Regions from separate parts of the Homo sapiens genome. Here regions 1, 2 and 4 are each linked to region 3. Evidence: promoter capture Hi-C in 16 types of primary human blood cells and fetal thymus (Javierre and others, 2016). All regions are on one chromosome and are shown on one strand. The core of a region is centred on a gene start or on the middle of the fragment in contact, and the rest is flanking DNA. Distances in the headings are between cores, read along the strand shown. Region 1 holds the start of NIPAL3 (NIPA like domain containing 3). Region 2 overlaps RCAN3 (RCAN family member 3). Region 3 holds the start of IL22RA1 (interleukin 22 receptor subunit alpha 1). Region 4 overlaps NCMAP (non-compact myelin associated protein).

Region 1 (5,693 bases), core at 1,968-4,467, 270 kb before region 3:
GGAGACAGAATCTCACTCTGTCATCCAAGCTGGAGTGCAGTGGCACAAACATGGCCTCAAGCTGGGCTCAAGCAATCCTCCCTCAGCCTCCCAAGTAGCTGGGACCTCAGACGCGTGCCACAAGGCCTGGCTAATTTTTTTGTAGAGACAGGGTTTCGCCATGTTATCAGGCTGGTCTTGAACTCTTAGGCTCAAGCAGTCCACTTGCCTCAGCCTCCCAAAGTGCTAGGATTACAGGTGTGTGCCACTTCTCAAAATTTGCTACCAAACAGAGAAGAGAAAGTATACTTCTAGTGTCCTAGGAGGCATGGCCAAAACCCTGCTTAAAAGTGTTAGGGTTTTCTTTGAGGACTTTTTATACATTTTTTAGAAATGTATTCTACTGCATAGTCTATGTTTATTTTAATAGAAAAATGTTTTAAATTGCTTTTGATGTGCCATGTGCTACCTGTTTTACCTTTGCCAGGTCATTTAACTTTTCAGCCAGTTTCTCCAGCTGTGAAATATAGATAATAATGTTCCCACTCCACATGGCAGTCATGAGAATTTGATGAAATCATACATGTAAAATGCAGGCATAGCAAATGGTCCATGAATGTGAGCTGCTGTTAAGATTAATTTTATTCTCTCCTGTTTAATTATTTATTTTGTCCATTCCTTTCTCTCTCATGCATTCATCCAACAAATATTTACTGAGGGCTCACTGTGAGCTAAACAATTTCTGCCACTCCCTGAGGCTTCAGAGAGCTGCCTCCTGTGTATCCTGTAGCTTCCAGTTCCTTCTGCTATCCGGCCCTAGGCCCAGGAATTCTGGTTCATGGTGTGGACAGCACATACATATGTGATAAGGGGAACACCATGTCCAGTCCTGGGATACAACAAATGCAGGTTTAGCATAGGGACAGCTACAGAAACCATTTGGCTTGGTTTCACTTTGTCAGAGGGCCTCAGGATGAAATTATTGCTACTACCTGCAGACGAGGTTATATATCCAATATACAGACATGAGATGTAAGCATTCACCGGGTAACTTTATCAGGTAATTCACATCCCATAGCTAGACTTCCCTGCCTGTAAAACCCTATGAATATGTGTTTGCAATCTTGTGGAAAGCATAATTGTTCACTATACTTTCACGTACATGTGAAAAGCATTATTGTGTTACATTTCTGTAAAAATGTTTTAGCATTTGTAATAATCATAAGAGCCTTAAGAGTGGCTCAGGGTTCTTTCTACCTCTGAGAGGCCCCGGGAAGCATTCAACCATGAAGCAGTCATGGAGTTGAGGAGCGCAAACTCCAGTGAGGTGTTTGCGGAATACCCTGTTCAGTTGCTCCCAGCTGAGATCTAGCCCAGAGCCTGACAGTGACTTCTATACATACCAACCAACTGACTAAATGAGATCTAGCCCAGAGCCTGACAGTGACTTGTATACATACCAACCGACTGACTAAATGCAGGCTGGTTAAGCACTGGGTGCACTGTGGCCCCTTCGCAGTCAAGAATGCCTTTCTAAGGCCTAATCAACCACAACTCCAGAGCTTCAACAAGCAGATATACTCAGCCCCACCCACAGGAGGTCAGAGAAAGCCAACAGACCTTAGCGACATGTCAATCAAGGGAGTGGTGGGAACCCAGGCCTCCTAACATCCTTCAGAGTAGTTTGCCCAAGTGCTTTTCTGGTTTTGCTTTTGTTTGTGGTGGTTGGCATTGCTGTGGTTTAATTTTTCTTTTAAAAAGCAGCTTCCCTCTCTGCCTCAGGAACTCGCAGGCCTCTGAAGCATCGCCTGCAAAGATTGAAGGCTCTCCCTCAGCTGGGTGGGAGTCCGGACTGAAAGCCTGGAGGAACCCTTTGCAAGCTGTACTCCCTTATAAGACACATACTTTTCACCTGGTGACTCTCTTTTCCTGATTTCGAAGCATTTCTTCAGGACCTACATATGCCCGAGAGGCAAGCAGTCACCTCTGCGTTGTCAACCACCCCACAATTAGAGCACGTGGTCACTGACCCAAGGAAGGAATGAGAATTCACTAGGTGCTCTGCTTCCATTCCCACCCCGTTTATCTCGATGACGGATTTCACCAATCCCACAGAGCACGTTTTACAAATGAGACAGCCGTGGCTCATAGCGTCTGTATTCGAATTTGCCTCTTTCTGAACAAATCAATAAAACACGCTCTTTCCCACCACCCGACGATCTGGCTTCTGGAGGTGAGCGCCAGTTCCCTGCCAAGCTTCCCGTTCCTCGGCTTTGGCTCACGAGAAGGTTACATTCTTCCGTCCCGTCCCACTGAGCTGGAAACTTACAACTCGAGGAGACAGCACCTCTGTTCCAGAAGCGGGCTTAGACCAAGAACGCCTCCCCTCATCCCACCTGCTAACTCCACCATCTGCTGCCGCCAGGAAGCCCGAGCCGCTCGGCACGAAGAGGAGAAATTCTGGCAAAGTTAACTCCATGTCACTTCCTGGTTTGGTAGAGCCTGGCATCACCTTTAGTAAGGTAGCCCATGCCCCCGCTCCTCTTGGCCTCGATGCAAAACTGGAAAGAACATTCCAAGGCAACGGGACCCAGGTTGGCGAGGCTGGTGACAGTAAGAAGGAAGGGTATGTACACTAGGGGACGTTAGGTGACTTCGCTTTTTCCAGAAAAAAACGAAGGTTAAATTCAATTCCCCTTCCTCCCGGTGTTAATCACTACTCACCGGCGGCGTCTCCTCTAAGGCCCACCTATCAAAACCTTCTGAGAAATGACTCGGACTCTTCGTGCAACCCGGAGGCACAGCCTCCTTCATCCCTTCCCAATTCAGAGCTGCCAAGATGCTGCAGTGTTTTGCTTTCAAAGGTCGCGATTTGATTTGCCAGACTGCCTGCCAGTCAGAAGTTGGCAGGCATTTCGCGCAGGCAAGTGGCTGCGAGGACGGGGAGTAGGCGGGACAGCCCCTGGCAATTGGCTGCGCTGCAAAGCTTGCTTGAAGCATAAGGGAGCGACCTGGGGCTAGAGCTTGGCGCTCACCTGGAGCGGGGACCCCCTAGCGGCCACAGGAAGAATGGTGCGGCGACTCCCCTGCCCCCTCTCCCGCTGTCCCAGAGAGCTTAGGTGGTTGCTCGCCTCCACCTGCCCGGCAGGTGGGCCTGGTTTTAGCAGCCTGCCAGGTGTCCTCCCTTCTTATCCTCATAGCCACCTTCCGGGCTTTGCTCCTGCTGTTCCCCTACCCGACGCTCTCACCAAGTATTCAAATCCAAAACGTCCTTGAAGACCCAGCGCTCCCCAGAGCCCTCGCGAGACTTGGGACCAAACATATCTCTCCTTTCCTGCCCTCCTGGAACACCTGTCGGATACCAAGCCTCCCAGCAATACTGAAGGTCCTGAAACGAGCCCAGCGCTTGGTTAATGTTTCTATAATGTACATAATTATCACGGCCATGATAATTAACATGCGCATGGAGTTTTACAGATGACAAGCTTCTCATCGCTCACACGTTGTCATATACACGCATTTGCTTTCAGATCGTCACAGCCATGAGTGAGACTTGAAGCCCGTTTTACGTATGAAGAAATGTCATTTGGGCCTAGACATCAACAATGAGAAAGAGGCAGTTCTAGTCTCAGATCGTGGGGCAGAGAAAGCTCCTTGGGAACATGGGAGAGGAACGAGTTGGTGCATTGTAGAAACTGCCCGAAGGCCAGCAGGGCTGGTGAGAGATTTTTCTGGGGGCGTGGTTGGGCCTGCGATCTGAGGGACGGGCCAGGGACAGTTTATAAATAACATATTTGGGGGCCGGCGCGGTGGCTCACACCTGTAATCTCAGGACTTTGGGAGGCCAGGAGGATCACTTAAGCCCAGGAGTTTGAGACCAGCCTGGACAATATAGTGGGACCCCATCTCTACAAAAAAATTTAAAAATTAGCCGGGCGTGGTGGCGAGCGCCCGTGGTCCCAGCTACTCAGGAGGCTGAGGCGGGAGGATCGCTTGAACTCGGGAGGCGGAGGTTGCAGCGAGTCGAGATCGCGCCACTGCACTCCAGCTGGGCGACAGAGCAAGACCCTGTCAAAAAAAAAAAAAAAAAAAAAAAAGCTTGGATTTCACCCTAAATTTAAAGGCGAGCCATTGGAGGACTTTAAGCAGGGGAGTGACAAGGTCGCTGAGACCGCCCTGCCCTGAAGCGTGTGAAGAGGGGCTCCTGGAATACTAAGTGGCTGCCCTTGTATAGTCGCCCATGTCAATTTTTTTTTTTTTCTTCTGTTAGAAACAGGGCTTGGGGCCGGGCGTGGTGGCTCACGCCTGTAATCCCAACACTTTGGGAGGCCGAGGCGGGTGGATCACCTGAGGTCAGGAGTTCGAGACCAGCCTGGCCAACGTGGTGAAACCCTGTCTCTACTAAAAATACAAAAAGAATAGCCTGGCGTGGTGGCGAGCGCCGGTAATCCCAGCTACTCAGGAGGCTGAAGCAGGAGCATCGCTTGAACCTGGAGGGCGGAGGTTGCAGTGAGCCAAGATTGCGCCACTGCACTACAGCCTGCTCGACAAAGCGAGACTCTGTCTCAAAAAAAAAAGAAACAGGGCTTGGATGAATGTTAATTCTTTTAGGTATATTCCTTGAAGCAGGATTTTTGAGTGAGCAAAATTCTGAGGCTTTTGGTTTATCACAAGATTTTTGAAGCATGGCCTAGATAAACCTCTTATTAGTTCCCCACCCCGCTACAGGCCCTGATGTAATTAACCTAAGCCCTAAAATTCGGCCGGCTTCTCTGCGGACTTTGAAACGCCTCTAATGATTGGTCAACAACTTTTCACGTTAAAGAAACAGAGGATGCCATTGGCTGGAGTTACCTCGCGGACGGCGGAAGGTGGACTCGCGAATGTTAGGCCTGTGGGTGCCATAGCGACCGGGAGGTTGGGCTGGCCAGATTCAGCTGCCGGGACCGGACCAGGTAGGAAGCAGTTCCGGCGGGGGGACCGGTCCCTGAGGTCGTGGGGAAGAGGACACGGCGCACCATGTCCTCCGCATGGGACGCCCGCGGAGACCCCCCGGCCTCCGGGTGCTTGCGGAATTCCAGGGCTGAGCTAGGTGGAGCCCCGAGGGCGGGAAGAAGCCACCATGGGAGTTGCCCCTGCGTCGGGGCGTGTCCTCGGTGTTTCCACCCGAAAAGTGGTGACAACTGGGGCTTGCCTGCTCCACCGAGCTCCTGCCAGGGGCGTGGGCGTCCGACCCTTCTGGCTCAGGCTCCGCGAGTGCGCAAAAGTTGGGAGGCTTCAGTGCCTGGCAGTGGGTGGACGCCAAAGACCTGATCTCTACTCATAGGTTCACCCCAGCTCAGGGGGTGTCCCCCAGCAAACGACTTCCCTGCTCTGGGCCTCGATTTACCCATCTGTAAAATAAAAGGGTGAGATTGGAACCTGGTGGTCACTAGCCCGCCGCTAAATTTCCTTCCAGCTCCCTGATACACTTTCTCAGCCTATGAAGACTATCGAATGGGTTATTTACCTGAGAGTGCTTTGAAAAAATGTAAGCTGCTTCCAAGATGCTTATAACTGAGTAGATAAAAATCGCCTACAGACGAAACTACTCAGGACATCCAAAAAAATTCTATCTAAAGTAACAGTATACATAGTTTAGTACATGTTTATATACCCTGTACAGTAACATGTATAATGTAAACTGTAATACTTAGCATATATAACGTTTTTTA
Region 2 (6,338 bases), core at 2,984-5,483, 390 kb before region 3:
CGGTGGCTCATGCCTGTAATCTCAGCACTTTGGGAGGCCAAGGCAAGTGGACCGCCTGAGATCAGGAATTAGAGACCAGCCTGGGCAACATAGGGAAACCCTGTCTCCACAGAAAATACAAAAATTAGCCGGGTGTGGTGGTGCACACTTGTCATCCTAGCTACTTCGGAGACTGAGTTGGGAGGTTGGGGCTGCAGTGAACTGTGTTCATGCCACTGCACTCCAGCCTAGGCGACAGAGCAAGACCTTGTCTCAAAAACAAAACAATATCAAGAACCTTTTTATCCAGATACATTTATCCAGAAAAATTAGATTTTGGTGTAACAAAGTAGTGGAGTGTGGTAGAAAGAATGTCAAGAAATGGGTTCTAGTCCCAGGTCCATGACCATCCAGATGTGTGCATTTGGCAATGCCTCTGGGGCCACTTTCTTGTAAAGGTGTGTTGGGGGTGGGGTTGGGATGGAGGAGGAAGTGGAGGGAGGCAGGGGCAATAGAGGGGTGTGTCTGGGTCTGTTCTGCTGAGCTCTCACAGGGGTTGAACTCAGGTCCCCATTCTTCCCCCAGCCCCTTGAAAAGGAGCAGCTTTGTTTACCTTTCCTTTTTGTAATAGTTTTACATTGGCTTTGTGTAAGATTTCATTTGAACAAAGAGCAGAGTCCTATGGCTTAAAAATAAGTATTCGAAATCCCACTGCACTAGATAACCTCTACTGTCATTTATAGTTCCACATTTTGGAGATTTTTTTTTTTTAACCGAGACAAAAAGTAAGTCTTTACCCGGAATAAATCATTTTTAACCAAAGGGGAAACCAGGGTAAAAGGTTTCTTGGGGAAGAGCTGAAAGTGCAGTGGTTATTTACAGAGTGAGCAGTGACTCACCACCTTGAACTCTGGCACTGCACGGCATTAATGTTCAACAGGACTCTTGTGAAAGGAACAAACACAATATTGCACTTCTCTGTCTTATTAGCTAAATGTAAGTGATGCGTATTGAAAATACTACACACAAAAAAACTCAACTCAATGGACTGATTTAAAAATAGTTACTAACTTTATTTGTATTCGTTTTAAAAACAGAACTTGTTACAGGTAATCACGAAGCTTCCAAAAAAAAATTACATTCTGCTTTTGTCATCTTGATAGGACAAGGAATGTTTAGATGTCCTTAAAACACAGGGTAAAGTTGACAAATAACAAACTACTACAAACTATGGATTGTCACTTCAAGCACACTAAAATGTGGAATACATGTACATAAATTACTGACCAGTTTTTTGCAATACAAAGAGTATGCACTACAGCTTATATACCATAAAGGTAACATGCCCCAAAATATAACAGAAGATCACAAACACGTTCGGAGAAAATAATAACTTTGACTCTTGGGTTCAATTAAGATTGAAGTGAAATGATTGGGAAAGTTTTCTGAAACTTGAAGGGCACGCACATTATAGCAGAACCGTCAATCAACAATCACGTGGGGTTGAAAAGCAGCAAGAAGAATATGGCACGGTAACAGGGGTAACCACCTTTCTCTCTCCTCAGTCCCCAATTTGAGTTAGGAAGATTGAGGACTAAACAGAAAACAGTATTTAAAAACATGTATTATCTGCATAGATAGAAATCTTCCATTACGATGAGAGTGAACATTCGGTCAAAGCTATGCAGGAGTGCCAAGAGTCTGCAGGATATGATTCTGTTTCAAAAGGAAATATATAGGTTTACATCCAGACAGACCACATAACGAATTTAGTGAAAGATCTTTACGCTGTTATTTAAGTGGGTAGAGACGCTGACTCAGCCCCAGGTTAGTTCTTGACCTTGGCTAAAAACTCTACTTTGAACGTGATGATTTTTATAATCTTTGTCAGTGAACCCAGCAGTTGTTGCTTTCAGTTGTCTTATGGATTGTACATTTGGTAATAAGAAAACAGTCTCCAAATGATTAACATTTTCCCCTGATTCACAATGAAACAACGGCATTCTGACGAAGATGATCCATACACCGAGGGGAGTTTAAAAGACAAATAAGTATTCAGCGAATTGTAGGACAAGGTTCATAAATCTTTTAAAACTTTTTAAATAGTGAGTTTCTGTAACATGGACTTACAGCTCCAGCTAGGAAGCAACTATTGCCCCATCTTTTGTTCCTTTATATTGTCACCCCAATTATAAATAATTTGTTTCTTTTAGTACAGGAAGATATAAATGCAAATGTGCAAAAAAAGGAAGAAGGAAAGATGGACCAAGTTCACCTGTTTGGTACGTACAGGGTCCACAGCTCTGCAGAAAGGGGAGAAACCTGGTAGACAGAGGGCCTGACGCACCATAGCATTGAGCACATTTTCCACTGCTTAATTATGTGTGAGATTTTCCCTTTTAAAATAAATCTATGGTCTGTGAAATAGTCTGTATAAAAATATGAAGCCTTGAATAGGCCAGTCATAGCAGTTCCGTCTTGAATAGAACTCAATTTTACAAGCACGGAGTGAGAGTATCATTCCACTGCAAACTCTTTTATTTCCACAACATATTAGATCTCATTCTGCTTTAGTAGAGTTACCTCTTAAGTACGACTATTAGTCATTTCATTAATATGAAAATCTGGGAAGGCCCACATAAAATACCAACATAATTGCTGGCTACCAAGATAAAATTATTTAGGCAGATTCCAGCCCCAATGGTTCAATGATAACAAAACTACAAAACATGGGACATCAAATTCATTAATAAAATTATTAAGTCACCTCTTCCATCGAATGATGAGATTTTTCTTATTCACTGTTTCCCATCAGGGAAAAAAGAATCCTCCCACCTCATGCCTTTTTTTTTTTCTGATGCCAGGAATTAGTATTCATTGCCTCTTTAAGAGGCCAATGCAAAAAAAGGTAGAAAAAGCCCTAGCCCAGGAGTTGGGATTGCCAGTTGTAGTCCCTGGGTTGCCTTGCTGGGGGTGCCTAAGTCAGTGCCATAACCTCAGTTTTTCTAATCTGTGTAACATGGGGATAGAGTATATGATTTCCAAGGTCACTTTCACCTCTGTGATTGAGCCTCTAAGAAAGCCAAATCTTTTCACTTTGTAATCATGACATTTTTAAAAGATGGAGTTAATATGAATGGGAAACTTTTTTTTTTTTGAGCCAGGGACTTGCTATGTTGCCCAGGCTGGTCTTGAACTCCTGAACTCAAGTGATCCTCTCACCTCAGCCTCTCAAATAGCTGAGACTACAGGCACACACCACTGCACCTGGCTAAAGACTATATTCTTAAAGAATAAAAGTACTGCACTTCACCTCTATCTCCTGGTATCTCTTCAATTCAAACACACCATTAATGACTACAATATTTTATTTAAGGCCGGGCGCAGTGGCTCACGCCTGGTTAATCCCAGCACTTTGGGAGGCCAAGGCAGGCGGATCACTAGGTCAGGAGATCGAGACCATCCTGGCTAACGTGGTGAAACCCCGTCTCTACTTATAAAAAAAAAAAAAAAAAAAATTAGCCGGGCGTGGGAGCGGGCGCCTGTAGTCCCAGCTACTTGGGAGGCTGAGGCAGGAGAATGGCGTGAACCCGGGAGGCGGAGCTTGCAGTGAGCCGAGATCACGCGGCTGCGCTCCAGCCTGGGCGACAGAGTGAGACTCTGTCTCAAAATAAATAAATAAATAAATAAAAATAAAAAATAAAAAATATTTTATTTAAACCTTTATGTTGAACTTAAAAGTTCCTTGAAGCTTTGCTTTGGCTCTTAATTACTGGTATGTTTTTGAGTACAACATTTTGAAGAAGCAGAATGTGAAAAGACTAATTTGCTTTCCAGCTGAGTTTTAGTTCTCGAAGGCAATGGAACTGTTGCTATCCACTTCTGCCTCTTAGTACCTTAAACCTCAGAGATGCTCACTGGAACACTTTTTACATGGATTTGTCTTTGGTTTCATCAGGTGAGTGTGCTACAAAAATCTAGAACCTAAGAGCCAATGCAGCGTCGGTTCTGTGACTATCCTTGTTAAGTGTTACGGTTTTCTAATCCTTCACAAATGTTTTTTTCCCAACACAAAGCACCATTATCTTTCCTCACAATTTTCAACATAGTTTGATTCCCATGAAGAGGTTATGATTTCTAAAGAAAACATGGCTACTATACTATCAATCAGGGTTAAATCTTTTTTTTTTGAGACGGAGTTTCGCTCTTGTTGCCGAGGCTGGAGTGCGATGGCGTGATCTCGGCTCACCGCAACCTCCGTCTCCCGGTTCAGGAAATTCTCCTGCCTCAGCCTCCCAAGTAGCTGGGATTACAGGCATGTGCCACCATGCCAGGCTAATTTTGTATTTTTTAAGTAGAGACAGGATTTCACCATGTTGGTCAGGCTGGTCTTGAACTCCTGACCTCAGGTGGATCCACCCACCTTGGCCTCCCAAAGTGCTGGGATTATGGTGTGAGCCACCACACCTGGTCCTATCAGGGTTAAATCCAAGTAATAACTCAATTTCAAAAAAATTGCAGAAAAGCCTATTAAAAGAAAAAAAAAACCATGAGACTTATCTCTTGTAAATTTGTTACATGAACTAGATATTAAACAGCCAAAAAAGGACAGCGATGATAGTATCTGTTAAGATCCTGGTTCATTTCACAATATGAAAAAGTTGATGGGTACTTAGTAGCTTTTTTAAAAAAATTCATTTTATTATATTATACTAGAAAAATGAAAATATTAATACTTTCCATTCAGAAAAGCTTAAATGACTCGTCTCTAATTTTGGTTTAAAGTTTTCTTCAATTTATTCAAGGCTCTCAAAAAAAAAATAGAAAAGCACTGTAATTTGCACTGCTTGACTGTAAAATGTTTTATGTGTTAGGAATAGAATATTCTTTAATGGGCAGGCAGAGAATGAAAGCCAAGCCAAATAACAAAATCTCATGGGTTTTGATCACTTAGAAAATTACAGTGAATCAATATTACCTAAAAGGAAATTCAAAAAATTCCCAATTGTTGATAATACATGTCTCCTGGCATACAGGGTCCATCTTGCAGTAAAAAATGGGCACAATGCTGAGTTCAGAACTGCAGAGTAAATTTATTGGGTGGTTGTCGGTTAAAATGACAAATGATGATCTGAATTCAATACATTAAATTGCTGATAGAATTGCAAATTTCAACTGAATTTACATTGAGGCCTAGCAGTGGTAGTTGGCTACAACTGGAACAGTTTATCACCTCAGGGTATTTGAGGGCAAGGAAGATACAGAAAAAAAAAAAATTAGGGGTATGCAACACAGTTTAAGTGCTCAGAAATAAATTTTACCACAGTGAGAACGAAACCACAATGACATGTTACTAACACTGTGCAGACGTCATGGTTGAATGCCTGCGTTCTGTTCCTTCCTGGTGGCAGCCGCCTTGGTTCATTAGTTCTCATGTTTGCAGCTCCTTCACATGCCCCGGAGCTTCCCAAGTGTGCCACTCAAAGGAAACAGCACAGTGAGTGGAGGCCAGCAGACCCACCCGGCCCAAAACAGAGCCTTCTCAGTTATGAGACTTTTCTACAGAAGGGACTTCAAAGTCTAAACAGACCAGAGAGAGTTAAAAAGATCCTGCTGCTTCTTAGGGAAGTTCAAAGGTACATTCTGACACCTAAGTGGGAAACAATTCTGTTTTAGGAAAAGTGCCAACTGCAATCCGGGTACAAAATTTCAACAAAAAGAAAAGTAAAACTGAATGATCTCCCCCTCATTCCCTAATTCATAGAAAAATAGTAGGTGTGACTTTTGTTTCAAAGCAAGCTGAAAAATGGTTAAATGGACAATTTACAAATGGTCTTCAGAAAACCTTATCATTACCTTTTCTAGTTGAAAGTCCATGAATGACATACATAAACGTACACATCATAGCCAAAAAACTCAAGAACTAGTGGTTAACAAGATACTGGAAAAGGTGAAGGATAAAAACTGGTGAATGAAGGTAGCTGGGTGGTCTACAGGCTAGAACACGGTCACGAACGGCAGAATGCAGTAGCCACCTGCGATCCTAATCATTCAAGCTTACTGGTGATACGTCCCACTTCTAAAGTGGCCGTCCTTCCTGGGCAGCCATGTCTGGAGGGCGCCACATCAGGAATGAGGGCCTGTGCATTGCTTTGTCCCAAATTCCAGATAAGAGCAACATGTGGGTGGATCTGTGTCGTAAGACTCATCCTCAAAGTGGATTTGGCATTTCTTCCCCAAAGCTAATTGAACAAATACTTGAGAACCATGATTTCTATGAATTATTCTGTATTTCTGGTTTCTTTTCCTGCAAAAAATTTCATGTATACTGAGTAACAACCTTTGATCGATTTATTAAT
Region 3 (5,529 bases), core at 2,942-5,441:
AACTTTGGAGCCCAGAGAACGAGGTTATCTGGGGAACCTCTGCCACTGAAGGCAGCTTCGTTGTGAACACCTCCAGCAGCCAAGACCTTTCTACCTCTCAAGGCAGCCACACCATCATAGCGAGAGTGATTTCCTTAAATTGAAAAAATGGCCTCTCTAATATGTCTCCCCCTGACCACCCTAGTTTTCCTTTTAGAGGTAGTTATACAAAAAAGGTCTAGAGCCTTCTCCATGCAATAGCCCCTCAAATATTTGAAGACGGTGCTCATGTTTCACCTCCACTCCAACTCGAATCTCTCCTGTTCATTCTTTTGTTTGTTTGTTTGTTTGGAGGCAGAGTCTTGCTCTGTCACCCAGGCCAGAGTGCAGTGGCTCAGTCTCGGCTCACTGCAACCTCCGCCTCCCAGATTCAAGCAATTCTCCTGCCTCAGCCTCCCGAGTAACTGAGATTATAGGCATTCGCCACCATGCCCAGCCTTTTTTGTTTTGTTTTGTTTTTTTGTTTTTTTAGTAGAGACGGGGTTTTGCCATGTGGCCCAGGCTGGTCTCGAACTCCTGACCTCAGGCAATGCGCCCACCTCGGCCTCCCAAAGTTCTAGGATTACAGGCATGAGCCACCGAGCCTGGCCTGTTTGTTTTTGAGATGGAGTCTCACTCATTCTGTCGCCCAGGCTGGAGTGCAGTGGCACGATCTTGGCTCACTGCAACCTCCGCCGGGAGTCTAGGGACCCTAGACTCCCTGCTTCTCCTGCCTCATTCTTCCAGATTCTTCCTCATTCTTCCTGATTCTCCCTCATTCTTCCTGATTCTCCTGCCTCAGCCTCCCGAGAAGATGGGACTACAGGTGTGCATCATCATGCCTGGCTAATTTTTGTATTTTTAGTAGAGACAAGGTTTCACCATGTTGGCCAGGCTGGTCTCGAACTCTTGGCCTCAAGTGATCAGCCCATCTCAGCCTCCCAAAGTACTGGAATTACAGGCATGAGCCATGGCGCCTGGCCTCCTTTCCATTCTTGAACATGTAACACAGCTGAAGTATCATAGTGGACAATGCCAAAATGCAGGCCAGACCACATATTCTGGAAGGACTTTGTTTTTAAGTTCGTTTGTTTTTTGAGACAAGGTGTCACTCTGTTGCCCAGGCTGAGTGCTGTGGTGCAGTCATGGCTCACCGCAGCCTTGATCTCCTGGGCTCAAGCAATTCCCTGCCTCAGGCTCCCAAGTAGCTGGGACTACAGGCATGTGCCACCACACCTGGCTAATTTTTTATTATTTATAGAGACAGTGTCTCACTATGTTGCCCAGGCTGGCTTTAAACTCCTGGACTCAAGCGATACTCCCTCCTTGGCCTTCCAAAATGCCGGGATTACAGGCATGAGCCACGGTGCCTGGCCTCTGGAAGGACTTTCAAAGTGAGATGTTATGGGCTGGAGTTATCAAGAAGGGCCATATCGCAGAAGAAAACTGTCTTGGTGAGATTCGAGGAAAAGGGAATTGGCTAAGGGAGTGGAAATGGCATTCCAGGAGGAGGATAGAGCCCCAACAAAGGCTTGTCTTTAATGCCGATTTGTTATGTTTAGTAACCTTGCTTTCCCTTAATATAAATTAGTGTATTTCCTATATTAACTTTAGGAAATGCAGATAAGCAAAGGGAAGAAAAGAAAAATCACCTACAATTCCACTACCACCCAGAGATAACGCCCCTAGTGTTTTCATCTATATCCATGAAGACACGCAGTTTGCTCTGCGTGTGCAGGTGTGCGTTTTAGCCAGGGTGGTACTGTACATAGGTTATGTTATGCCTCTTTTCACTTGAAAAAATATGATGAGTCTTTACCAGGTCACGAAACATTTTTCTCCAGCATTATTTTGGAAGCTGCATTTGTCTTGCTTTGGGTGGACATACCATTATTCTTTTAACCAAACCTCTATTGTCAGACATGGAGGTTGTTTTCATTTTTTTCTCCTTTTTTTTTTTTTTTTTTTTTTTTTTGAGACGGAGTCTCGCTCTGTCGCCCAGGCAGGAGTGCAATGGTGCGGTCTCGGTTCACTGCAACTTCCACATCCTGGGCTCAAGCAATTCTCCTGCTTCAGCCTCCCGAGCAGCTGGGATTACAGGTGCCCGCCACCATGTCCGGCTAATTTTTGTATTTTTAGTAGAGACAGGGTTTCGCCATGCTGCCCAGGCTGGTCTCGAACTCCTGATCTCAGGTGATCTGCCCACCTTGGCCTCCCAAAGTGCGAGATTACAGGCATGAGCCACCACGCCCCACCTATTTTTTTCTTAAACTGTTAGAAATGAAGTCTGGGTGTTCCCACATTCCTTAGCAATCCAGGTGTCTTCCTTCCCGTTAATTCCTACATAACCACAGGCCCTCGAAACTACAGGATGCCCTTTTCCTCCATCAAGTTCCTTCTTCCAGTGCTTCTGAGAGGCCCCAAGGAACACTTTCGTGTTCCACAGACCTGTTGGGGCTGCGTCTTGTCCTCTCGGCCAGCCACTTGGGACCAAAGCCTGCTCTTCTCCCTAAGCGTCCCTTGTAACCTGTTTTTCTCGCTGTAGCTTCCCCACACTGCCTTGTCATCAAAGTCATCAAAAACCCTCTATCCATCATGGTTCATTCAGTAGCACAGAAACCTCTCCAGTCTTTCAGACCAAGGGACTTTAATGTAAAGGAGCTCGTCACCCAGAGGATGAAGGAGCTGGGACACTAATCAGGACAGACAGTTCAGAGATTTCCCCAAAGCAGGAAGCTGTGCCATCCCACCAACTGAAAGGAAAGATGAGGGGAGAAGGTGTTGCCAGAGCCAGGAGCTGGCCTCCAAACAGGAACAAGAAAGACATAAGGGGTTGCCTGGCTGATGGACTGTCCAGAGGGAGCCAGAACTGCAGAGGGATATGGCCATTGCTGGGGAAGCCACTCAAACAGAAAACGAGGGGAGAAATGCTCTGATCTCTGCCTCCCCAGTCTTCCCCCAGGGGCTAAACCTATCAGAAAGCAGTTGATAAAGGAGTCTAGAAAATGTAGTTTCCTGCAGTTTCAGGAAATGACTGGCATGGGCCCTACCTTAATTCCTCCAAAGCACAGCTTAGATTTGGCTGTTTTGTCAAACAAACTTTAGCAATCAGGGCTGATAACAATTACAATTCAGGAAAGAAAAACTTAAACACCGATCTCAGCATATCACAGCCCATTACACCCAACCCGTTGGCAGGATCCCTGCTAAAATTTCGCTTGCCTTTGTGTGCTTGGGGCCAGGCAAACTCTCCCCAGGGGCAGGACCCTCCAATCGTGTCCACCCTGACCAGAGTCCAGGCCCCAGGGCCCTTCTACCTTCTCCAGGCCCTGCAGGAAGGAGAAAACCATTTCCTAAACACCTGTCCCTTCATTCACACGAAGCTCATGTGCAGATCCTGCCCTACGTGGCAAAATGATGGGAGAGCAGCCTGAATCTTCATCGTCCCGAACCAAAGCCCCATTCATGAAGTTCAGCCCCATCTCTAGCACAGCAGAAAGAATCACTGAAGTTTGAGTTCCATTTTTTTTCTAAACTTTTGCAGATCCTAGACCCAAAGGCTCAAGGTAAGAGCGGCTGGGCTTCCTCACCCCCAACGGCCTCTCTAGGGGAGAGCTGTTCCCAAGCCCACCCCAAGCGTGGGGACCTGCCTTGATATGGAGGATCAAGGAGGAGCATCGGGTGCCCTCAATCTCCTCCTGCCAGAAAAGCAAAGGAGTCACAGCTTTTCCTTTGCTGCAAGAAACATTCTGGGACCTTTTTTTTCCCCCTCTGTTGTCCAGTTATTTTCATCAGGGTAAATCCCCTAGGAATAGAATTATTAAAGCAAAAGATATGTATGTGGTGTAGGCTTTTGATCCACAGTGCCAAATTGCTTTTTGATAAGGCTGCATATCGTGGATTATTCTTGCCTTTTCTGCCCCTCAGCTCCTTGATAAACCACTTGGGATGAATCAGCCACCGGACCAGATAAACAAGCCAGCCTGTTACTATTGCTGTTTTCTGCAAGTCGGAAGGGAACTCCCTTAGATCCCGCCCAGAACCTGGAATTCCAGAGCACACAGGGCCAGGACACCTTTGTACCCCTGCTCCCCACCGGCACAGGTCCCACCCACCCCCTTCTCCCCGCCCCATGCCCGGGTGGAGCCAGCTGCCAGGGCGCCAAGACTCCCAGCCCTCTCTCTGTGCACGGCAGAGTAGAGGCCAAGGGAGGGCTCTGTGCCAGCCCCGATGAGGACGCTGCTGACCATCTTGACTGTGGGATCCCTGGCTGGTGAGTGCCCATCTACCCTGTGGTCAGACCTCCCTTATCCCAGGGGCCAACGATCAGGGTCATCTCCCCAGCACCCTCCCCAGCCCGAGCATAGCCAGTTTCAGTTTCTCCCCTGCTAGGGCTGAGCAGGGTGCCGGGTGTTCACGGAGAAGCAAATGCCCAGCTTAGTTTGCTGGGGGCATGAGAGGGTGCCTCAGACCCTGGGTTCTTCCAGGGACCCAAAGGACCCTCGGGTCTTGAGGGATATAGCCAGCTGTCTGAACTGGGGGTGCTGGATCGCTGCACCTCAGTGAATGGAGAATTGGCCTGGAGGAGGCAGACATCCTTCGGTCCCTCAAACGGTGTCGGCACAGTTTGTACCATCCTTCCTCTGCCTCTCACTTGGCACTGGCCTGACAGGGGAGGAGGAGGAAGGACCGGGGGAAACGAAGCTTGAGTTCACTATTGCCTCCCTCCATGCCCCTGCAGGGCCTCTTTGGCCCCTTTTGTTATCATAGATCTGAAAGAGCATTTTCTCCTAGAGTGGCCAGGTCTGCTACATTAATAGGTCTTAAGACACAGGACTCATTTGGAAACAGGTCTTAAGGGCATAGTGTTCAAAGCCAATAAAGTGAGCGGAGTGGGGGGCTCATCATTATGGAGAACGTTACATGAGACCCTAGACTCTCTCTCTGCTCTCCTGGTGCATTGCATGAAATTCAGGGAACTTCCTTAGGAAGTCAAAGCATAGTCCTGATTGAGGATGGCGAGCAGGTATGGCCTCGGCCAGGCCCTCCTTGCTCAAGTGCAGGACGAGGCCCACGAAAAGGCAGAGCTTCCCACCTTCTCTGCCACTGTCCCGCCAGGGCTGCCTGCGTCTCCAGGGCTTCCAGCTCTGTGGGACCCCCTCCAGTCTGCTTCCCAGCATCAAGCTGGGCGTTCCAGGAAGATGTGAGGCACCCCCTTGAGGCACCAAGACACGTCCCTTTAGACCCTCAGCCATACTGGTTAGAAATCCTAGAGGCTCCCAGCCCTTTGAGATGGGGGACCCCAAGAAATAGCCCTTAGGAGATTGTCAAGGGTCAGCTGCCTCGCGCTGCACACACCGGGCCCTCACCCCCCCAATCTTAGGCTGACTCCAGAGCATGTGGAATTGTTTCTTGTTTGTGTATTTTTCCTTAGCTTCCCAGCTGGTTGACAGAACATTGTTTTTCCACATGAATGTGAAAAAACAAGTTGCCTTTTATAAATCCGCCAGG
Region 4 (5,804 bases), core at 1,291-3,790, 450 kb before region 3:
CAGCGTCTCAGCTACTCACACCACCCTCTGCCAAACTGCTGTGACAGCAGGGCACTCCCTCTTCCCCCATCATATTTGGTCTTTGCTGCCTCTGGGCTGGCTGCCCCAGGCATTGGCCTCCCCAGTCCCTGCCCAAGGTCTCTCCAGAGAGTCCTTATCTATGGGCTGCGGCTTTCCTGCTCTCCCAGCTCTGATGGAAGCAGGGGTCAGCACCCACCTTGAAACACACCCACTAGGGTCAGGCCATCTGCATTCCAGCTCAGGGCTCTGGTGGCAGTGGCCTGCCCCGGGGGCTTCACAGGGTCAGAATGGCCTCTGTGGCCTGGCCCTGTTAATCTATAAGGTGGGCTCTGCCTCTCCCTTCTCTGTGCTCCCTTAATCCGGGGCCCTGCCTAACCCTCCCTAGCTCTTGTCTACCCCTCCTTCCAAAGACCAGACCCTCCGGACTCCCAGACTCAAGCTCCCACCAGGAACCCCGTGTGGCTCTGCCTGACCTCCCCACTCCTGCCACTCTGTCTCCCTGCCTGGGCTTCCTGTCTCCCAACACCTGAAACAGGCCCAGGCTAGCCATGCCCTATTGCTCCCCAAGAAAAAGAGCGTAGCCTTCAAGACACGGCCCAGGCCAGGCACGGTGACTCATGCCTGTAATCCCAGCACTTTGGGAGGCTGAGGTGGGCAGATTACTTGAGGTCAGAAGTTTGAGGCCACCCTGGCCAACATGGTGAAACCACATCTCTACTAAAAATACAAAAACTAGCCGCTTGTGGTGGTGCACGCCTATAGTCCCAGCTACTTGGGAGGCTGAGGCAGAAGAATCGCTTAAACCTCCAGGAGGTGGAGGTTGTAGTGAGCCAAGATTGCGCCACTGCACTCCAGCCTGGGTGACAGAGTGAGAGTCCATCTCAAAAAAAAGACACAGCCCAGTCCCCAGTCGCCCCCCAAGGAAGACTCCTACTCATACTGAAATAGAGATTCTGTCCCCTACCCTCCCACAGCAGCTCCCTGCAAAGAAACATCACCAAGGCATGTGTCCACTGCTTTGTCTGCCATTAATGCTACATTTCATTGTCAGGTCCTTGAGGATGGAGACTATTTCTTGTTCTTTCTCATATCCTTTTACCTTCCTCAGATAAAGTGTCTGGGTCTTCTCTCCTTCGCCGTGCAAGGGCTGGAATGAGTAACTGAATTTCTCCCAGCTTCATTTGCTCATCTGTAAAACGAACTGCCTCTCCCTTTCCCTAAGGGAGCTGAGAGTGAGAAGTGGGGTATGGAAAGTGTTTTTCAGTGTTCACTAAATGGCAGCTCTAAGTATTATAGTGAATATTAGTAAATATTTGCTGAACTAACTTAGAGACAGGGAAATCTGGAGCTGAAAACTAGGAGACATTCTTTCTATAAAAATAAGCACAAATTAGCCAGCCTGGTGGTGGTGTGTGCCTGTAGTCCCCACTACTTGGGAGGCTGAGGAAGGAGGATCACTTGAGCCCAGGAGTTTGATGGCACAAACTACAGTGAGCCATGATGGCACCATTGCATTCCAGCTTGGGTGACAGAGCAAGACCTTGTCTCTAAAACTAAATAAATATAATAAAATTTTAAAAGCACAGACAAGTATGAGAATTTGGAATGAAAGCCTTTCCCACCCAGCACTGCCCACCTCTACTCTCAAGGGGAGATGCCGGCCCTGCCTCAGTACGTGAAGGGTATTAGCATGCATTTCCCTAAACCTTCTCCTTCTAGCCTCACCAACATCAAGCTAAGAAGACTCACCAGTGAGGCTTTCATACAATTCCTTTTAAATACAGAAAAGAGATACAAATAGGTGGCTGCGGATCAAGGTTTGCTTAGTGAGAGAGACATGGAACAATCATTGGCCAACCCAAACCCATGGACATATTCACCGTGATACCAACACGCACAAAAATGACAGAAGCCACCATTTGAGTGTTTGCCGTGTGCCAAGACCTTGTGACAGATATTTTCTATCCATGCCCTGATTCAACTAGCAAAATGCCATGTAAGATAAGTTTTCCTTTCCCCTTCTCTCAAATGAAGACCCTGAGACTTGATAATATAAAGCCAACTCTCAGCCGGGTGCAGTGGCTCACACCTGTAATCCCAGCACTTTGGGAGGCCAAGGCGGGTGGATCACTTGAAGTCAGGAGTTTGACACCAGCCTGGCCAACATGGAAAATTAGCCAGGTGTGATGGCAGTTGCCTGTAATCCCAGCTACTCTTGAGGGAGGCTGAGGCAGGAGAATTGCTTGAACCCGGGAGGCAGAGGTTGCAGTGAGCTGAGATCTCACCATTGCGCTCCAGCCTGGGTGACAGAACAAGACTCTGTCTCAAAATAAAAATAAAAATAAAAACATAAAGCTAACTATCCACACTTACGTAGCCCCAAAGCTACAGAGCTGGTTTGTGAACCTGGGTGTTGCATGTGGCAACGTCTGCATCCTTCCTACCACACCACCCTGTCCCTGACACACACTGGTGGGGTCTATGACCAGTCACTGCAGGAATACATGGAGGCACACACATGCACACACATACACACACTGACCAGTAATGCAGCCACCTAAGGCCACCAGGACACAGGCTCCTCTACAGGTCCTGCAGGGGTGACCTCCTGGGTGCCGAGTTCCAGGTGCAGACTGTCTTTTGGATGGGCCCAGTAGCTCTTCTCTCTCAGAGAACAGTGAGGAATCTCAGAGCATATCTTGCCTCATCTCGGGACTGAGGGCTCTCAATTGCATCTCTGTCCCTGCTGCATCAGAGAAGGTGGGAGGGAGGGTGGTAGCACAGCCATGGCCAAGCATGTGGGTGTTTTCATGTGTGGGGCCCCAGCAACAGTTGTTAACCAAGTGAGGGCCAGCAGGAGCACTTCAGTATCAAACGTCCCTAAGACCAGGGGCCATGACCATAGAAAACACAAAGAGGACAGGGAGAGGGAGGCCAGTCTTCACTGACAGAGGTTAATTTAATAATAATAATAATGCGCTATGTGTCCGGCACCGCACTCGGTGCTTTATGTTGGAGATCTCACTTAATCTTCATACCAGTCCTGTAAGGAGGGCACAGGCACTTTGTCCATTCTGAAGATGAGGAATCTGAGGCTTGGAGCAGAGAAGAAACTGCCTTAACTTCACAAGGCTAATATGAAAACTATGCCAACCATGCCAGGATTCAAACCAGGGTCTATCCGATTTCACAGCCCCTTCTTCAAAAACCCTCCCAGCAAATCCACAAAGCACAGGTGGCCCAGCATCCAGGGCCCAAATCAATGTGGGGCTTTGATGAAAAAACCCACACAGGCCAGGGTTCAGCAGACAGACGAGGGCCCTTGCCCCAGGCCTATGACCCTGACCCTGACTCCTACCCAACTACTCCTGCCCTTGGCCACACTCTGAGCCTCTGTGTTCAGCAGAGCCTCGATCACATTTACAGAATCTACAAGGGACTGTTGTTTTCTTGGGTTGTTTACAAAGGCCTGTGTGGGAGGCGAGTTTGGGAAGTGATGGCAGGTCATAACCATTTATTCACGGATCCATCCTTCTCTGACTAGCTCTTGGCCAAGTCTAAGAGCTGAATGTGGAAGATAAACGCTGTCAGACTCCCACCTGTCCAAAATATCTCCCCTGAAGCTCTGCCCTAGGGGTACCCCCTCTCCCTCTGGCCTGGCTTACAAGTTCCTCCCTGGATAAGACAATAGAGAGACTACCAACCCCGGCAGACCTCTCCTCAATTGACCACCTGTAACTCAGAGCAGGTAACCCACGAAAGCCCTCGACCCACCAAAACATTGGGATTGATTTCTCCCAATCTCCTGAGGGATGGGAGATTCAGCAGGACTTGATCTCCTCCACAGACAAGTGGCTCACTACTCCCAAGCAGCTCCTGGAGATATTGGGATGTTTTAATGGTCAGAAAATTGACCCTAAGGCCAGGTGTGGTGATGTGAACCTGTAATGATAGCTACTCGGGAGGCTGAGGTGGGAGATTCGCTTGAGCCCAGGAGTTTGAGGCTGCAGTGAGCCATGATCAAGCCACTGCACTTCAGCCTGGGTGACAGAGCAAGATACCATCTCAAAAAATTAAAAGGAAAAGAAAATTGAGTCTTTTCCTCTCAGAAGTCCCATCTTTCTCACTAAAGACAGAGCTGTTTTCCTTTCTGTTTCTTTCTCTTTCTTTTGCCTATTAAACCTCCGCTCCTAAACTCCTAAAAAAAAATAAAAGAAAAAATAAAAGAAAAAGAAAATTGACCTTCATATTGGCATCTTGTAATTTTTACTTATTGGTGCAAATTATCTCTCCACAAAGGTAAATCTGCTACCTCTTCTAAGTGAAAACCTGTCAGGATTAAGAGCACTTTTCTGGTGGGGAGTGGTGGCTTATGCCTATAATCCCAGCATTTTGGGAGGCCGAGGTGGGTGTATTGCTTGAGCCCAGGAGTTCGAGACCAGCCTGGACAACATGGTGAAACCTCTTCTCTACAAAAATACAAAAATTAGCCGGGCATATTGGTGTGCACCTGTAGTCTTAGCTACTTGGGAGGCTGAGGCTGGAGGATTGCTTGAGCCTGGGAGGCAGAGGCTGCAGTGAGCCAAGATCATGCCACCACGCTCCAGCCTGGGTGACAGAGTGAGTCCCTGTAAAAAAAAGAAAAGAAAAGAAAAGAAGGCACCTTTGACCTTTGTGCATGAAAGGTTCAATTCAAACTTTCACCGATGGAACAGAGCAGTTGGGGTAGCTGGTATCACCACATCAATGTTACCTCCCACCAATAGGTGGCGATAGTAGTTGTCTGTAGGTTGGTAACCATCCTGCGAAGCCAATCTGTTTTTAAGCAGAGGAGCTTTCTGCCCTTCAAAACACCAATTGTATGTCCTCTGACGATTTTCTTCTCTGGGGTAAATATTCTCAGCTCCTTCAAACAAGCCTTCGGGTGATGGTGTCCCTCATGGGTTCCTCATTCCTCTGTGTCAAGGACTCCCCTAAGAATGACCCCAAAACTGGACACATGACTCCAGAGGGGGGCTGACATGTTCAGAATGACAGTTTTCTTGATACTTATCAGATGTGAGCCTGAATTCTGCTATTTACTAGCTGTGTGACCTTGGCCAACTTTCTTCACCTCTTGGTTTTCTGGTCTGTGAAATAGGAATTATAAAAGTCACAACTCCATAGGGTTGTTGTGAGAATTAAATGAGATGAAGCATGTCCTATACTCAGCACAGTGCTGTACACAATATCTATCGATATTACCCTGGATTGATAAAAAGAAATAGCTCACTGGCCTTACAGGCAGCCACAGCACACCTGCTGAAAGATGGCCCCCAACTCTTTTTCACATTTATCCTTATGCTCGTTAATGGCCAATCAAAGCCCCAAGATCACCAAGTGAAGGTGCTTTTTTTTTTTTTTTTTTGAGATGGAGTCTCACTGTTACCCAGGCTGGAGTACAGTGGGACGATCTCAGCTCACTGCAACCTCCGTTTCCCGGGTTCAAGTGATTCTTCTGCCTCAGCCTCGCAGAATAGCTGGGAGTACAGGCACCTGCCACCACGCCCAGCTAATTTTTGCATTTTTAGTGGAGACTGGGTTTCACCATCTTGGCCAGACTGGTCTTGAACTCCTGACCTTGTGATCCGCCCTCCTCGGCCTCCCAAAGTGCTGGGATTACAGGCGTGAGCCACCGTGCCCAGCCGTGAAGGAACTTTATAAACTGCAAAGTGGAAAGAGAGCGGCAGTGACAGTCGCATGATGACAATATCATGATGGTCTGCTGTCCATTCGCCAGGACT

Evidence for each region. The method cuts DNA at HindIII sites, captures the fragments that hold promoters and counts their contacts. A CHiCAGO score of 5 or more calls a contact.
Region 1: a fragment that was not itself captured here is called in contact with the fragment with the promoter of IL22RA1 in region 3 in 1 of 17 cell types (M0 macrophages); the score reaches 5.4 in M0 macrophages.
Region 2: a contact is called between a fragment that was not itself captured here and the fragment with the promoter of IL22RA1 in region 3, in 2 of 17 cell types (M1 macrophages and endothelial precursors). The highest score is 5.3, in M1 macrophages.
Region 4: a contact is called between a fragment that was not itself captured here and the fragment with the promoter of IL22RA1 in region 3, in 1 of 17 cell types (total B cells). The highest score is 6.2, in total B cells.

What each region holds. Positions count from the first base shown.
Region 1 is chr1:24,412,915-24,418,607 of GRCh38, reverse strand. It overlaps NIPAL3 (NIPA like domain containing 3), which reads right to left and starts at 2,806. Exons shown (of 12, transcript NM_020448.5): 1 at 2,704-2,806. STPG1 (sperm tail PG-rich repeat containing 1) reads left to right here and starts at 4,826. Exons shown (of 9, transcript NM_001199013.2): 1 at 4,826-4,934. RefSeq lists enhancers at 1-24, 5,211-5,330. The HindIII fragment of the contact is 499 bases long and covers 2,968-3,466 here.
Region 2 is chr1:24,535,731-24,542,068 of GRCh38, reverse strand. It overlaps RCAN3 (RCAN family member 3), which reads right to left. Exons shown (of 5, transcript NM_013441.4): 5 at 1,029-6,338. NCMAP-DT (NCMAP divergent transcript) reads left to right here. Exons shown (of 3, transcript NR_109781.1): 3 at 2,193-2,795. Among named protein-coding and RNA genes, the nearest start is that of NCMAP-DT, 17 kb to the left of the region's middle. RefSeq lists enhancers at 716-1,010, 5,521-5,610, 5,437-6,086, 6,087-6,338. The HindIII fragment of the contact is 1,001 bases long and covers 3,733-4,733 here.
Region 3 is chr1:24,141,802-24,147,330 of GRCh38, reverse strand. IL22RA1 (interleukin 22 receptor subunit alpha 1) reads left to right here and starts at 4,191. Exons shown (of 7, transcript NM_021258.4): 1 at 4,191-4,291. The coding sequence starts at 4,249. The HindIII fragment of the contact is 5,016 bases long and covers 1-4,724 here.
Region 4 is chr1:24,586,384-24,592,187 of GRCh38, reverse strand. The region is part of intron 1 of NCMAP (non-compact myelin associated protein); the gene reads right to left. Among named protein-coding and RNA genes, the nearest start is that of NCMAP, 33 kb to the right of the region's middle. The HindIII fragment of the contact is 8,325 bases long and covers 1-5,804 here.